Regions from separate parts of the Homo sapiens genome. Here region 1 is linked to region 2. Evidence: promoter capture Hi-C in 16 types of primary human blood cells and fetal thymus (Javierre and others, 2016). All regions are on one chromosome and are shown on one strand. The core of a region is centred on a gene start or on the middle of the fragment in contact, and the rest is flanking DNA. Distances in the headings are between cores, read along the strand shown. Region 1 has its middle 2.4 kb from the start of WFS1. Region 2 holds the start of TMEM128 (transmembrane protein 128).

Region 1 (4,288 bases), core at 1,714-4,213, 2.0 Mb after region 2:
CCCAACCAGCCGCACATGTTGTTTTTTTGTTGTTGTTTTTTGTGTGTGATGGAGTTTCGCTCTTGTTGCCCAGGCTAGAGTGCAATGGTGTGATCTTGGCTCACCGCAACCTCAGCTTCCCGAGTAGCTGGGATTACGGGCATGCGCCATCAAGCCCGGCTAATTTTGTATTTTTAGTAGAGACGGGGTTTCACCATGTTGGTCAGGCTGGTCTCAAACTCCCGACCTCAGGTGATCCACCCCCCACCTCCAGGCCTCCCAAAGTGCTGGGATCACAGGCGTGAGCCACCATGCCTGGCCCATGTTGTTCTTATCTCATTAACCCAGTGGGCTAAAAACTCATTGCCACACTCAGTAGCTTAAACCACAGAAATGGATTCTGCCACAGTTATGAAGGCCGGAAGTCTGAAATCAGTGTCACTGGGCAAAAATCAAGGAGAATCTGTTCCCTGCTCTTCCAGATTCCAGGGACTGCCTGCATTCCTTGACTTGTGGCCACATAATTCCTATCTTCAATGCCAGCGTCTTGGAATCTCTCTCTGCTCTATGTCCACATCAACTTCTCCGTGTGTGGTCAAATCTCTGTCTGCCTCTCTCCTGCAAGGAGATAAGCCAGGCTAATGGCCCCTTCTCAAAATCCTTAATCACATCTGCAAAAACCCTTTTCTAAATAAGGTACCATTCACAGGCTCCAGGAAGTGATCTCTTTGGGGGCCTTGTACACCAATAGCCTGTAAACCGCCACACTCTGCTGTCTTTCAAATGACAACTCACCAAGCCTCTGTCCTCATTTTCTTTGAATACTTGGCATGTAGTCCAATGCCTGGAACAGGCAGGATGTCACTAAATGTTTATATTTTTTAATTTTTATTTATTTTATTATTATTCTTATTATTTTTGAGACAGAGTTTTACTCTGTCGCCCAGGCTGGAGTGCAGTGGCATGATCTCTGCTCACTGCAACCTCCAGTTCCTGGGATCAAGCGATTCTCCTGCCTCAGCCTCCTGTGTAGCTGGGATTACAGGCATGTGCCATGACGCCCGGCTAATTTTTTTGTATTTTTAGTAGAGATGGGGTTTCTCCATGTTGGCCAGGCTGGTCTCGAACTGCTGACCTCAAGTGATCCACCCACCTCGGCCTCCCAAAGGGCTAGGATTACAGGTGTGAGCCACCACGCCTGGCCAAAAGTCACTAAATGTTTGTTGAGTAAATGGAAGTAGGTTTTAAATAGGTGTAGGGAAGGAAGTGGGCCAAGAACTTGAATGCAGAGTCTGAAAATCATGGGCAGACATCAAAGGACTGAATTGTGGGGGGTATATTTGGATGTCAGGTTAAAGAGTTTGGACACTGTCCTATGGGCAAGAAAGAGCTTATATGAAGTCCTTGCATAGGTGATTCATCCATCCATCCATCCATTCATTCATTCAATACTCAGCAGCAACATGCAGAGCTCAGCTCTTGGGGGAATGAGGACAGGTGTCCTAGAAAAGATAGCATTGAACAGCTGGCTCTTTCTCCCACCAGAGTTGTGTTTTAATAAGTTCTAGTATTTCTAGCAGTTACTGCTTTAAGTGTGTGGCTACTAGATTTTCTGGCTCATTCAGATTCATGACAATGAAATCTTTGTGGATTGTGCCTGGCACCCTTACATAATACCACTCTTCCCGTGAATGCTTTCCATCATGCGTTCTTCCTTATCAATAGTAATTTGCCATTTTTCAAATGTCTGCTGTGATCTTCTACTTCTCAATATTTTTGGTGTGTTTCTTGTAAATAGCGCTTAACTGGACTTTAGTTTTTGCCCCAATCTTACAGACTTTGGATGGGAAATTCAGCCCATTCACCGTGTTACGAAGGCGGGTAGCCATGGCTTTATTTATTTTATCTCATCTTATGTTTACTATTATTAAGCTTATTGTTCTTGCTATTATTTACTTTCCCCCTTAATTTTGCTTCCTTACTCTCCCTCCACCCCTCCCCCAACTTCTACCTAGTAATTCAGGAGTTCTACTCTGCTTCTTTCCCGTGAGTTGCTACTTTCCAATTCCTGAGAGTCATAATTCAACCAATCTTTCCCTGATAATGTATTAAAAGTAAATGGTAATGAAGCCCCCTCCCCACCACCAATAAGGCTTTCCTTCCCCAGCTGAGAGTCATAATTAAACCAATCTTTCCCTGCTAATGTATTAAAAGTAAATGGTAATGAAGCACCCCTCCCAACCACCAATAAGGCTTTCCTTCCCCACTCACCAAATCAGATCCTTTTACTTCCTCCTTCTCCCCTCAACCAAATGTGATCTTAAAATATTCTGACTTCTCTGTGATAAGATTCTATTTTTTTTTTTAGTTCCAGGCTAATACAACTTTCTCTTGAAGCATGTAGCTTATGTTTTAAGAATCCTTATGTGGCACTGCTAGTACAAAATCACAGGCACATGTGGATTATCCATACTGTATATTTTGCAAGGGTCATTGCTTAACACCACTTCCTGTTCTGAGCGTTTGCTCTATCTTGAAATCTCTACTGTGATTGAACTGTCTCGGTGACGGGGGAACTCTGAATATCTTCCTCTGAAAGGGGACATCACTGAGGTCCTTTCTCTGTCTTGCCACAGTGGATATTTTCTCTCTTTTGTCCACATAGATGAATCCTGTAGTAGCCATGGTAAGGATCCTTGATCCTATCATCAGAGTCCCTGGACATTGCTCCAAAGTCCCCTAGGAACCACTTCAACTTTTCTCCCCTTAGATGTGACCTGTTCTTTCTGGAACTCTGCAAGACCGTCTCTTTATCCTTGGCATCTGGGATTTCCAGGGACACGTTCTCCTGGCACTTTGCTCACCTCTGTTTCCCCTCCAGCTCTTCCTGGAGTACCTGTCCTTTGTGCAATACACCTCCTGGAACTGTCTTTCCAGTCTCTGCTTTTTGTCCTGATGATTTTCATGTGCTTTTCCTCTACATCATGAAGCATTTACTCCACATTATCTTCCAGTTTGCTCATTTGTCCTCACCTCCACTCTTCTCTTTCTGAATTTGCCTGTTGCTTTTTCAGTCTCTTAGCTCCGTGGAGTATGTTCAGTGTTGCTGTGTTCTGATAGAGGCTCCTTAAGCCATCTTGTAGATTTTTTGTTGCACTTCCTCTCTTCCCTTAGACCTCCACAGGAGGAACTTTTCAATCTGTCCTCTTCTCTCTGCTTAATGAGCCCCTGCAAAGGGTTTGGGAAGTGCTTCAGCCTCTCTGTGATTGTGTGTTCACATTAATATTTATTATTTTCTTAAATGTGCATAAATCTCACAATGTGAACAGTGATCATCTTTGAGTGATTTTTTTTCTCCTTTCTACTTTTAGTAATTCTCCAAATTTTCTACAGTTAGTGTGTGATAAGGTGGAAAGACATCTTCAAGACTTTGGGCAAATAACTATGTCTGAGCCTCAATTTTCACATCAATAAAAAATGGGCTCAGTGCCACCTCCCTCCTTGGGTCACTAGGGGGGCCCTTGAAAGCTGTGAAAGCCCCTAAGCCAACCTGGACAGAGCAGGCGAGGCTGACGGCAGGTGTTCTTCCTTCCTCTGTGAGCCTCACAGGGTCACACGTGAACATTGGGGATCGGGGGTGGGCAGTGGGGGCAGCTGGAGAATCAAATGAGGTGACTGACATGAACTACGCCGCTTTGACAAAAGTCCTCCGAAGTAGTGTGTTCAGAACTCATCTCCAAAGCCATCTGGAATATTTGCTCCCAACATGTTGGTAAGCATTATCTCTGACAGTCACTCCGAGCCCCAGTTTCTGCTGTGATAACTAGGACAGGTAGCTCAGGTTGGTTGTGGGGACCAGAGACAGAGCAGGCAGGGTCTCACGTTCCCCAGGGCCTCTCAAGGATAGACCCTCGCCCTCATCTCCAAACCACGCCTCCCAGACAGGAACCAAACTCCCAGAGTCTCCAAACTGCCTGAGCCTTGCCCACTCCCTGGGCTAACACACACTTTAAAGGAATCCCACAGTCACCGTGTGAAAAGCTTGCTACACTGCATTTGATTCTGGGCACTGAAAGCAGTACTTGGCTGCAGACACTCGTTTCAAACAGGCCCCATTTTTCCATCTCTGCTGCTGTTATTAGGGGAGCCCTTAGACTCTCTTGCAGCGCCGGAATAGGCGCTCAAGACGTGTGTTAATATTGCAACAGCAAATATAATGAATCTGCAGTTGGGGACGCTGAGGCCGGAGTGGTGGATGAAAGGTGGCCGGAGCCTTTTCCACGGGTCCAAACCACCTGTTACAGGAGAA
Region 2 (3,961 bases), core at 480-2,979:
ATTTACAAAAAATAAGAGCCCACTATAAAATATGGTCAATACAGTCAATTTATTTCCTCTAAATACATTGTGAAATCAAATTTACACTTTCATCGTCTTTCGGAAATAACAATGTCACCTGGAAATGTAAGAATTTTAATATTATGTTTCACATTTCTTCTAGGAAAGTAATTAGTCTTGTTAATTAGGAAAAATGCCAAAGGCAAACATTAGCGCATGAACTGGACTTGTGGTCTTCCAAGAACACTTTTATAACTAAATTTTTTTTTTTTGAGTCGGAGTCTTCCTCTGTCGCCCGGGTTGGAGTGGAATGGTTTGATCTCGGCTCACTGCAACCACCGCCTCCCGGGTTCAAGCAATTCTCCTGCCTCAGCCTCCCGAGTACCTGGGATTACAGGCGCCTGCCACCACGCCGGGCTAATTTTTGTATTTTTAGTAGAGACGGGGTTTCACCATCTTGGCCAGGCTGCTCTATTTGGCCAGGTTGGTCTCGAACTCCTGACCTCGTGATCAGCCCGCCTCAGCCTCTCAAAGTGCTGGGATTACAGGCGTGAGCTACCCTGCCCAGCCTATAACTAAATATTTTAGTTACTTTAAACACAGCTCAAAAGTGGAAACGGCACACCAGAGCTCTAGTTCCAGCACAGCACTGTCTAGACAGGTGATGGACAAGACATTTTTCCTGTCTGGAACGCAATCTGAAAGAATGGGTGGATGGGGGTTGGGTCAGATGGATGATTTCTATTAAGTTTTCCGGGGATTCTGACATGCCCTCTAGGTTCACGTGAGAATCAATGGTCCACATCTGAGGTTTTGGGCCTTTAGATGACCATCGGAAACCCTGGGAAGCATGTTCGTAATATTCTGGGATATCCTCAAAATGTATACATCATCATGCCTGGGCATGAGGTTATTCGTGTTTTTAATTTTAAAAGGTAATAAATGGACGTGGTTTTAAAACATATGAGATAAAAAATATCCAAAATGAAGTATCTGTCTCCCATCCTTAACCTCAGATCTAATCCCCAGAAGCAACCACCACTTACAATTTCTACTGAATTCTTCCATATTCTATGCATTCACAGGTGAACATACATCACAAGTTACCTGTTTTGTACCCAAATGGCGGCATACCATAGTGTTCCACACTTCCCTTTGAAAATCATCCCCATTGGTACATACGAGTCGACCTGATGTGTCAGGTATACATATACCCAAATTTACTTAAACAGCTTTCTGCTGACGGGCAAGGCAGATATTTCCAGTAATTCGCTATTACAAGCAATCCTGAAGTGAAACACTGCGCACATCATTGTACACTGCGGTACACGCATGTTTCTGGTAAATCCTTAAGACTTAAAACTGGTGGGTATTTTTAATTTTAATCGCTATTTCCAAATAGGTGTCAAATCAGCTCTCCAGAGAATTCTGAAGCGCAGCTGAAATGACGATGCACAGCACTCCGCGATTCTAAGGATCTTCCCTGACATTAAATATTCGACTTGCAAAGCCGAAACTCAGTCCTTCCAGACTGGGCCAGGGCTGCCGGAGGCCGGCCGTTTTCCGACGCCTCGCCTCTGAGAACCTCGGGGCGGCTTGGTGCGCGCCTCACCCGGCCCGGCGTCACCCTCGCGGTCCAGCTGGGCCTCGGCGTCCGGCAGGAGGAGGAATCGCCGCCGGAGCTGCTGCCGGGCCCGCGAGGAGTCCATCTTGGTACCGCCCCGAAATGCGACGGAAGTGACGTCAGACACAGCGCTTCCGGCGTCCGCTCCGGGTCTGGACCTCCTGGCGTTTGGATTGGAGACTGTGTTCTCTTCGCTGTTTAGTTAGCGAGCAGCTAGGGTGGAGTCGGCCTCAAAGGTTCCGCTCTCATGTCGGCAAGTGTGATTTGAATTTTAAAACACTGAGCTTTGCCGGTGGAAGAGTTCCCAAGTTTATTCCGACCTACGGAAGCCCAGGAGGACCAGGATTACCGCTGCCGCTGGATGCGTCCAGGGCCGGGATGCGCGACCGTGAGACGCTGCGCTTCCGAAGCCCTCGCAGGCTTCCGGGTGCCAGAGCAGGAGACATACCCTCTGTCCAGCCTTCCACTCTCAGCCCCCAGTTTTTTTCCTACTTTTGCTTTTCAGGAGTCGTCCAGCAAGACTTGAAAGGAGGAGAAAGGCCTGCTGGACAGGATGCTAGAGCCTGGCAGTGACCACTTGGGGGCCCTGGGCATTAAATAAACTTCTTGGGGCCCGTTTCGTTATTACACTTGGCTCTAGATTTGTTGTGCGTTTCAGTGAGAAGTACCTGTATGTGGTTCATGTGAGCCTCCTCCTCGCCACTTGTGAAAAATCCTCCCAGCCTGAACCGAGGGAACTAAATTGCTTTCCCAGCAAACTGCGGTTTTCCACACTGCTCACGCCCACAAACTGTGTGTTACGAGTTCACAACTTTTTCTTCGTCAATAATCCCGCGTATTACTCTCCCAGCCGTTTCCCAGCGTGTCATGTGCTGAGAAATGGTGGGCTTAGCCACGCAAACGTTTACTGAGCATCTACTATTTGGTAGGAGCTGTTAGGCACCATGCTAGCAGTGGAGATAAAGATGAGTAAGACATGGCCTTGCACGTGAGGAGCTCCTTGTCCAAAGAAAACCACAGAGGTATATTACAAGAAAACTCTATTTGTAAATGTATGAAAGCATTTCATCAATGCAGCCAACATTTTCTGAGCAGCTGCATGTGATAAAATGGTGAGGACAGAAGAATCTAGTAGAGGAAGCAGCTTCAATACAGTGCCATAATAAAAACACTGTACATGGGGCATAATAGAAACACTGTACATATAAAGGGCAGTTTATTCTGCTGCAGTGTGGGAGAGCAGGGAGAGTGGTTTCAGGTGAGTTGAATACAGGGGTGGAGAGCCAGCTACATAGGAAGTAAAATTTGAATTAGTAGGCACTGTTTAATATCTTCGATGTGTTGGGGTGTTTGTAAAAGGAATGTAATAAGAAATACTCAAGAAAAGAGTGCCAGCCGCGCGCGGTGGCTCACGCCTGTAATCCCAACACTTTGCGAGGCCGAGGCGGGCGGATCACAAGGTCAGGCGTTTGAGACCAGCCTGGCCAACATGGCGAAACCCCGTCTCTACTAAAAATACAAAAGTTAGCCGGGAATGGTGGCCGGCACCTGTAATCCCAGCTACTCTGGAGGCTGAGGCAGGACAATCACTTGAACCTGGGAGAAGGAGGCTGCAGTGATCCTGCCACTGCACTCCAGCTTGGGCAACAGAGTGAGATTCCCTCTCAAAAATAAAAATAAAAAAAATTAAAAAAAAGAGAGAAATACCAAATCCCTACTGATTTATCATTTCTTCAGCCTTTCTTCCCCCTTCGGAGCACAGGATTTAACAGCTGGGTGGATCATATGGCCTTTCTAAACAATACCTCCTTTATCCTGTTTTTTTTTTTCTGTTTTTTTTTTCTTTCAAGACTCCTAAAGAACTGGATTCATTTATTCAAAGTCAACTGAAGTCTTTGCCCTCTCTTCTCTCTCGTACGGGGTTAGAAGCCTTGTTAACAGGAAGTGAATTTGTCCCATCAAATACAATCTTCTGTTGATTGTCTCCTCGAAAAAGGGTCAGTGCAGGGCCTCCGTGGTAACTGAATACTCCCAAGAGCATCGCCGCTATCCCAGGTTCCCATACATGGTATGTTCAGGTCAGATCAGGTTTCTCCTTTTGTGGTTTCGGGGCCTTTGAATTTGGATCTGAAATCCTTCCAGAGTTTTTTTCTCTGCAATTTTAAATGGCACTACTTGCACAGCATATTGATGATACTTAAAAGGAGGTTGGAAAAATTCCAGTATTTAATGACCACATCTTCATTTCTGAGGTCCATTAAAGAAGCCCTTTGGGCAGGTGCAGTGGCTCATGCCTGTAATCCCAGCACTTTGGGAGGCTGAGGCAGGTGGCACCTC

Evidence for each region. The method cuts DNA at HindIII sites, captures the fragments that hold promoters and counts their contacts. A CHiCAGO score of 5 or more calls a contact.
Region 1: a fragment that was not itself captured here is called in contact with the fragment with the promoter of TMEM128 in region 2 in 2 of 17 cell types (total B cells and naive CD4 T cells); the score reaches 6.6 in total B cells.

The regions. Positions count from the first base shown.
Region 1 is chr4:6,265,264-6,269,551 of GRCh38, forward strand. No RefSeq gene overlaps it. Among named protein-coding and RNA genes, the nearest start is that of WFS1, 2.4 kb to the right of the region's middle. RefSeq lists an enhancer at 1-369. The HindIII fragment of the contact is 2,109 bases long and covers 1,910-4,018 here.
Region 2 is chr4:4,246,494-4,250,454 of GRCh38, forward strand. It overlaps TMEM128 (transmembrane protein 128), which reads right to left and starts at 1,730. Exons shown (of 5, transcript NM_001297551.2): 1 at 1,613-1,730. The coding sequence starts at 1,709. RefSeq lists enhancers at 1,072-1,698, 2,001-2,110. The HindIII fragment of the contact is 7,732 bases long and covers 1-3,961 here.